Linked DNA regions of Homo sapiens: region 2 is linked to region 1. Evidence: promoter capture Hi-C in 16 types of primary human blood cells and fetal thymus (Javierre and others, 2016). All regions are on one chromosome and are shown on one strand. The core of a region is centred on a gene start or on the middle of the fragment in contact, and the rest is flanking DNA. Distances in the headings are between cores, read along the strand shown.

The links. The method cuts DNA at HindIII sites, captures the fragments that hold promoters and counts their contacts. A CHiCAGO score of 5 or more calls a contact.
Region 2: a fragment that was not itself captured here is called in contact with the fragment with the promoter of BRPF1 in region 1 in 1 of 17 cell types (neutrophils); the score reaches 6.5 in neutrophils.

The regions. Positions count from the first base shown.
Region 1 is chr3:9,730,362-9,733,652 of GRCh38, reverse strand. It overlaps BRPF1 (bromodomain and PHD finger containing 1), which reads right to left and starts at 1,918. Exons shown (of 14, transcript NM_001003694.2): 1 at 1,515-1,918. RefSeq lists enhancers at 803-1,362, 1,923-2,482 and silencers at 1,440-1,569, 1,580-1,629, 2,100-2,459. The HindIII fragment of the contact is 5,381 bases long and covers 1-3,089 here.
Region 2 is chr3:14,952,888-14,956,317 of GRCh38, reverse strand. All of the region lies in intron 1 of NR2C2 (nuclear receptor subfamily 2 group C member 2), which reads right to left. Among named protein-coding and RNA genes, the nearest start is that of FGD5-AS1, 6.2 kb to the right of the region's middle. The HindIII fragment of the contact is 8,101 bases long and covers 1-3,430 here.

The DNA.
Region 1 (3,291 bases), core at 669-3,168:
CCTATTTGGAATGCCCTCCATACTTTCTGATTGGTGGGCTCCTACTCATTCTTCAAAAAACCAGCTCAAATGTCACTTCTGACACAACTTCTCTGACTCTCCCATGGGGAGCTGTTTCCACAGCATTCCATTCTCACCTCTACCACAGCACTTGACATACTGAAAGTTGTCTCCCCCCTGGACTGGGAGCTGTGTAGCAAGGGTACCAGAGCCTATCCACCTCTGTATCCCCAGTACCTAGCATGCACTGGACATTCAGTTTTTGGCGAACGAATGAATGACCTGTTGAACGAATAGCTGAATGAGGGGATCACCAGACTGAGAGCTCAGATGGGATGAAGGCCATGTAGAAAGCTGAATGGGTGGGTGGCTAATGCTTTAGCGTTGGACTCCTGCAGAAATCACTGGATCACAGAAAGAATTCATTTACTTTTGAGGTCTTTATGGGGAGCCTGGCCCTGGTACTGGGTAGGAGATGTACTGTGAAACAAAGTGAAAACTGAGGTCATTTAGTCAGTGACAGCAGCTTGTATTACATTTGAGCTGTTCACCCACTCACACATCAACTGAGTGACTACCAAGTGCCAGGCCCTAAGGGTACAAACACGAACGCGACAATCTAGGCATGCTCAGCTCCATGCTGGTCCGCAGGGGCCCTCCCTCCCCGCTCCCCAACATTCCTGGGTGAGTGTAGACAGCAGATGGCACCAGGCCTCAGGAAGCCCAGCTTGGTCAGAGACTGCCCCAATTTCTCTCGGCCTAGTTGAGTTCAACCATTCAGCTAGGGGCTTGGCACCATCCCAGCCAGGCAGGGCTATCATGAGCTCCCTGACAAAATAACCCCTCTTGGCCTCTCCACCTGTGCCTTAACCAGGCAAGTGGGCTGCTCCAGCTCCACTGTCAACGGCTCCTGATTTTCACATCAGTAACGCTACACGTCCAACTGCAACTCTTCTATTTCCTACCTGCGGCTGTGTCTTTAAACATAAACCAACCGAAGCACAAACAAGCTCTCCTCTTTCCAAGCTGGGTCCCGGGTGAATGGTTCCCAAAGTAGCACAGCGAATCAGCAATCTCCCCTTGGAACCCGGCAGCAGAGGCACAGGCGAGGGAGACGAGAACTTAGACCAGAAAGCCCGTGGGGAGGGCCCAAGGAGAATGGCGGCTGCATCTGCCCCTGAAGCTCAGGGGGCTGGAGGAAGTAAGGGGCGGGGGCCGGAGGGATAGGGCTGGGCCCCGGCAGTGCCCGCAGCCCACTCTCCGGATGCGGCGGCGTTTCCCCTTTGTGGAAGTGTAACAAGTGAAACAAGGCTCCCCGCCTGCCACTAGCCCGGGCAGCCCCGAAAGATACACTGTTGCCCCAGGATGCCTGCTGGGAAGCAATGCACTGTCAGTTCTCCCAACTGGAGTTGCCAGAGAGGTTCCCGGGCCACGCGGCTCAGTGCGCGTCCCACGAACGTAGCCTACCCCTTCCCTGCCGGCCACTCCCGCCCTGGTCCCAGGCCCGCACTCACCGGCCACCTCGAGTCCGGGCTCATCGCCGGGGGCGCCCGCCGGGGCTCCGACCCCACTTGGGGAGGTCGGCGGGGAAAGTCGGGCCGGGAAGGGGGAGCCCCAACTCCGGAGACCGTAGACCTCGCCACCCCGGCCCCCTGCCGCCCCACGCTTTGGTCCCGGCTCCCCGGGATTCCTGAGCTGACCCCTGCCGCTCCTGGTCCCGCCGGCGCCCTGGGGTCTCAACTCCGTCGGCCGCCGCCCGTTTCGCGAGCCCCCAAGATGCCCGGTCTCGGGACCGGGCGCTGCTGGAACAATGGAGGCTCCCAGAGGCAGCGCGAGGACAGCGGCGGCGGAGACCGTGGCGGCAAAGGCTGTGGCAGCGGCGGCGGCAGCAGCGGCGGCGACGGCGTCTGCGCAGGGTAAACGTGGCGCCGCGGCGCTACTGAGCTGCACTTTCGCCACGGATCCCCGCCCGCCCGCTGAGGCTCGAAAGACCGTGCTCCGGGATTCAGAAAGGACCCTGGACACCCCACAGGGCTTCTCTAGCTCTCCCATCTTAGAGTGGAGTTTCTGGAGACTGAAGTCACCGTACTCGGGATCTGGGGTCGTCGGGCGGTTTGTGGCGAATCTGCAACCACGGACGGTGAGCGCGGGGCTGGGCGTGAGGAGCCCGCCCTTCTCCCCTCCCCCTCTGCCTCCTCCCTATCCGCTCCCTGCCTCCTGCTGGCGCCGCGGCTGCGGGAGGGACCTGGCCTTGGTCTCGGAGGAAGGCGGTGAGGCGGGGCCAGAGTCACGGGGCGGGGCTGGGGGCAGGGCCGGGAGCAAGAGGGATGCGGGCTGGAGCCTAAGGGACCGGTAGTTATGGGTAGGACCGGGGCGGGGCTGGAGACTAGACCGGTCTGTGGGGCGGGGCTTGTGGGAGGGGGCGGGGCTACCGCACAGCGGGGGCCTGTTAGAATAGCGGGGTAAAAAGTGGGGCTAAACAGAAGAAGAGTACTCGCGAGAGAAAGGGCGGAGCTTTGGATGAGCCTGGAAAGTGGAGCTGGACTAGAAATAAAGAACAAAGTTGGAAAAAGCGATGCGACGCTGAAGGGAGCAGGCGGGGCTTGGTAAGGCAGGGGCGGAGCTGTGGGGAAAGGGCAGGACCGATTAGGGATAACGGGGCGTGACTGAAGGAAAGGGAAGAAACTTGGGAAAAGTAAAGGAGAGGTGCTAGAGAAAAGGTATGGGTCTGAGAGAAGGGGCTGGTTTGGGGCCGGTGGGTGTGAAAGGGCTTGTCTGGTAAAGCGGTGGGAAATCTGTGGGTTGGCAGGGATGTGCTGCGGGTTGCTGATTGGAACATGGTGCCAAAACAGCTGATTTAATGTGAGTGGGTCACCTCCTAGCAATGTGAACGTGGGCAAGTTCAGTTCTTTAAGTTCCTTATTTGTAAAACAGAGCTCGAAAACTCTGTTGTTAGTTCTTGAGGGTTTCAGAGAACTTGCATGGCAGGGGGAGACATCCTTAAACAATACTTCTCCAGTTTTGTCATCAAAGAGGAGCGTGAAAGGTCTTCCAGGGTTCTGGGACAAAGCCCAAAGCATCTGAAAGCTTCTATCTTCTTAATGCAAACTTTGCATTTGACCCAATAAAATGTATGTTTTCTAAAAACCATCCCAATAAAATCGACATGCCAGGAAGAGGTTTGCTGATTAAGATCTTGGGATCTGAAGTCAAACTGATGAATTATCTTAAATGACTCATCTTCTCAGAGCCTCAGTTTCCTTATGGGTAAAGTGGGAATAATATATAGTA
Region 2 (3,430 bases), core at 494-2,993, 5.2 Mb before region 1:
TGGGAAAATTAAAATGGAAGGATTTAGATAGCCTGAGAGAGGATAAAAAATAAGAAATACATAGCTTGAAACTTGCAATCATAGATCAAGACTTGAAAGTAGAAAATGAAATTCAAGTGGCAGGTTTAGTGTAATACAAATGTTCATCAACAGAAAAGATACTCACTGGGATGCCTCTAAGGTTAAGTTTAGGTATACTTCCTGTCAATGGAAAGCCAATTATTTATTTAGACTCCAAGTTTACTTAGCTTTAGGGTCAGGTAATTTCCTTTCCATTGTGACCCTCCATAGGAAAGTTGTTTCTTCCATATTCAAAGCAACTGTAAAAAAGTGCAGCAATGATATGTATATGGTAGAAGTAGCAAGGCTGGGTGAGTGACTAGTAGGGAAGAGAAGTGGCTTTCACATAAATGAAGTTCTTACATATTTATAGTATCAGAGCAGTTCTACAATTTTCTGTGTTGACACCTCCCCTAAAAAAGTCACTACATACTGTGGATGATTTTTTCTTATCCTACCAAGAGCCCAAGTGTAAGGGTGATGTGGACTTTCTTCATATCTATCAGTAAGAGCCAGGGTAGATGGATGGAAGGAAAGCAGGATAAATTCTCTTGACATCCACAATGTGCTTTAAATCAAACTAGGCATGATTTAATCCTTAGCATACCTTCTGAGTATGTAATATTAGCTCACCAATGAAGATGGAAAAAACTGAGACTCAGCACTTGTAACTCGTTTCAAATCATCCAGCTACTAAGCGATGGAGCTAGGATTCCAACTGAGGCCTCTTTGACTCTAAAATCGCAACATTCCCTCTAGATCACAGTGCCCTTCAAAATAATTTCCCAGAAAAAAGGAAGTCAAGGAGAGAATGAAAAAAAAAAGTGACAGGAAAGAATTATCTAAGGGAACAAAAATTGCTTACATCAATAAGCTAGATCATTTAATAACTGATATACACAACCACTAAGTCGTAATATGTGACTTATGTTTCAGTATTGCTAACAGAAATTTCTGAGGCTGCTCCACCCAGGTAGTACCATGGCAGTTCTTTTAGAACTTTGAACACATTCTTCCCTTAAAACTTAACCTACACAATAATCACATTAATTAAAATAGTGAGAACAATTTTACTAAGTAAAACTTTTTACTTAACTACAACACGCAGATACAAAAGGGCACAAACCAGCCAGGCTCGGTGGCTCCTGCCTGTAATCCTAGCACTTTAGGAGGCCGGGATGGCTGGACTGCCTGAGCTCAGGAGTTCAAGACCAGCCTGGGCAACATGGTGAAAACCTGTCTCTACTAAAATACAAAAAATTAGCTGGGCATGGTGGCACACGCCTGTAGTCCCAGCTACTCGGGAGGCTGTGGCACGAGAATCCTTTGAACCTGGGAGGCGGAGATTGCAGTGAACCAAGATCGTACCACTGCACTCCGGCCTGGGCGGCAGAGGGAGACTCCATCTCAAAAAACAAAAAAAGGCACAAATCGTAAATGAACAGTTTGATGAATTTTCACTAACTGAACACACAGAACACACATGTAAATGCCACTCAGATCAGAAAACAAGACATTACCAATACCCCCAAAAGTCCCTCTCACACCCCTTCCCATAGTCAATAACTTCTCTTCCCTCTCCTGACTTTTATACTACTGGCATTACTTTATAATATTATTGCACTGTTTATAATACACTTTTTGGTATGTCTGGCTTCTTTTGCCCAACATTATTTTTGTAATAACCATGAGAAGTGAATCCATTTTCACTGTCGTACAGTATTCTAATGTACGACTATGCCCAATTTATTTCTCCATTCTATAGCTGATGAACACTTAGATTGTTTCTAGTTTGGAGTCCTTATGATTAGTGCTCCTATGAACATTTTCACACATGCCTTTTGATGTACTGCTTTCTTTTCTTCGTTTGAAAATTTTACTATTTTTAAAAATTAACTGTTTTACTTTTATCTATTTTTAATTTTTATTCTCGAGAAAGTACATTGTTTATTTCTTTAGAAAAGACATATTATAAATTTATTTTATTTTTAAAAATCTGTATTATATTAAATAAGTCAACAACACAGTCTAATTATTAGCCTTTCCAGTTAAAAGCTGATATATACTTTGTGACATCTGCTTTTAGTCTTGGTAAAGCAATCAATTAAAAAATGATTTTTCAATTCCAGGGTTAGTCATCTTATCAACCTAATAAAAAGATGCATCATTACAGACACCATAGTGGTGGGACAGGGGACAAGAACGAGTGTGGTACAAATGACATATCCAAAATGTTCTAGAAATAATACCTAATCAGATTCACTATACAACAAATACACTGGGGGAAATGCAGCATGAAGCCCGCTAGTATTGTGTAACTTCTCAAGAGCCATCCAGCCTCAGTTGTTTTTTTTTTTTTTTTTGAGATGAAGTCTCGCACTGTCGCCCAGGCTGGAGTGCAGTGGCGTGATCTTGGTTCACTGCAGCCTCCACCTCCCGGGTTCAAGTGATTCTCCTGCCTCAGCCTCCCGAGTAGCTGGGATTACAGGCGCCTGCCACCACGCCCAGCTAATTTTTTGTATTGTTAGTAGAGATGGGGTTTCACTATGTTGGCCAGGCTGGTCTTGAACTCCTGACCTCATGATCCGCCTGCCTTGGCCTCCCAAAGTGCTGGGATTACAGGGGTGAGCCACCACGCCTGGCCATACGTGAATCTTTCTTTTTAAGGAACATGGGTGGGCAGTCAGGTAGGAAACTTTTTCCCCTGCATAGCTTTTATCAACATATGAACAACAAAGGTAAATAAAGCAGCTCCCTGTAAAACCAGGAAGCCTTCAGGCTTGAGTCTAGCCCTACCAGCCTCTCATTTCTCTTCACTTTTCAGCAGCAGTCACCCCATTTTCCAGGCCCCAAGACCTTTTCTCACACCTCTCACTAACGCAAACAGGGGGGAAATATTCTTTTACACTTGGGCACTTGGAATGAAATTCCTCTCCATCTACATGTTAACATTTCAGGGATTAGAATCTTTGAGGTAACTGTTAATAATTATGGAATAGAAAGTTTCACCTCCTATTAAAGGACTTCAGGCCTCTTATTACAGTGAAGGAGGTACTTTTTATTGCCCCTAAAAAATCACACTTGCCTCTGAGGCTGACTTTCATCATTACAGGCCAACTGGAGTCCAAGGGTAACACAGAAAAAACAGTTAAGTGTCTGAGCTAGCCTATTCCCTTTCTGTCCTTAACAATTCACCTCCCATCCTTCTATTCTAAGACTTCCAGGTACCAGGGGTCTGCATCTGCATTTATTGTACCTTTAACAAATGCCTACGCCAATGCCCTGATCTGGCTTTCATCCCTCTAGTCATTCCCACTCCTCATCATTGTTGAGCTGTGCTAGTTGAGCTGTTGTTCTTGGGCAGTTCTTC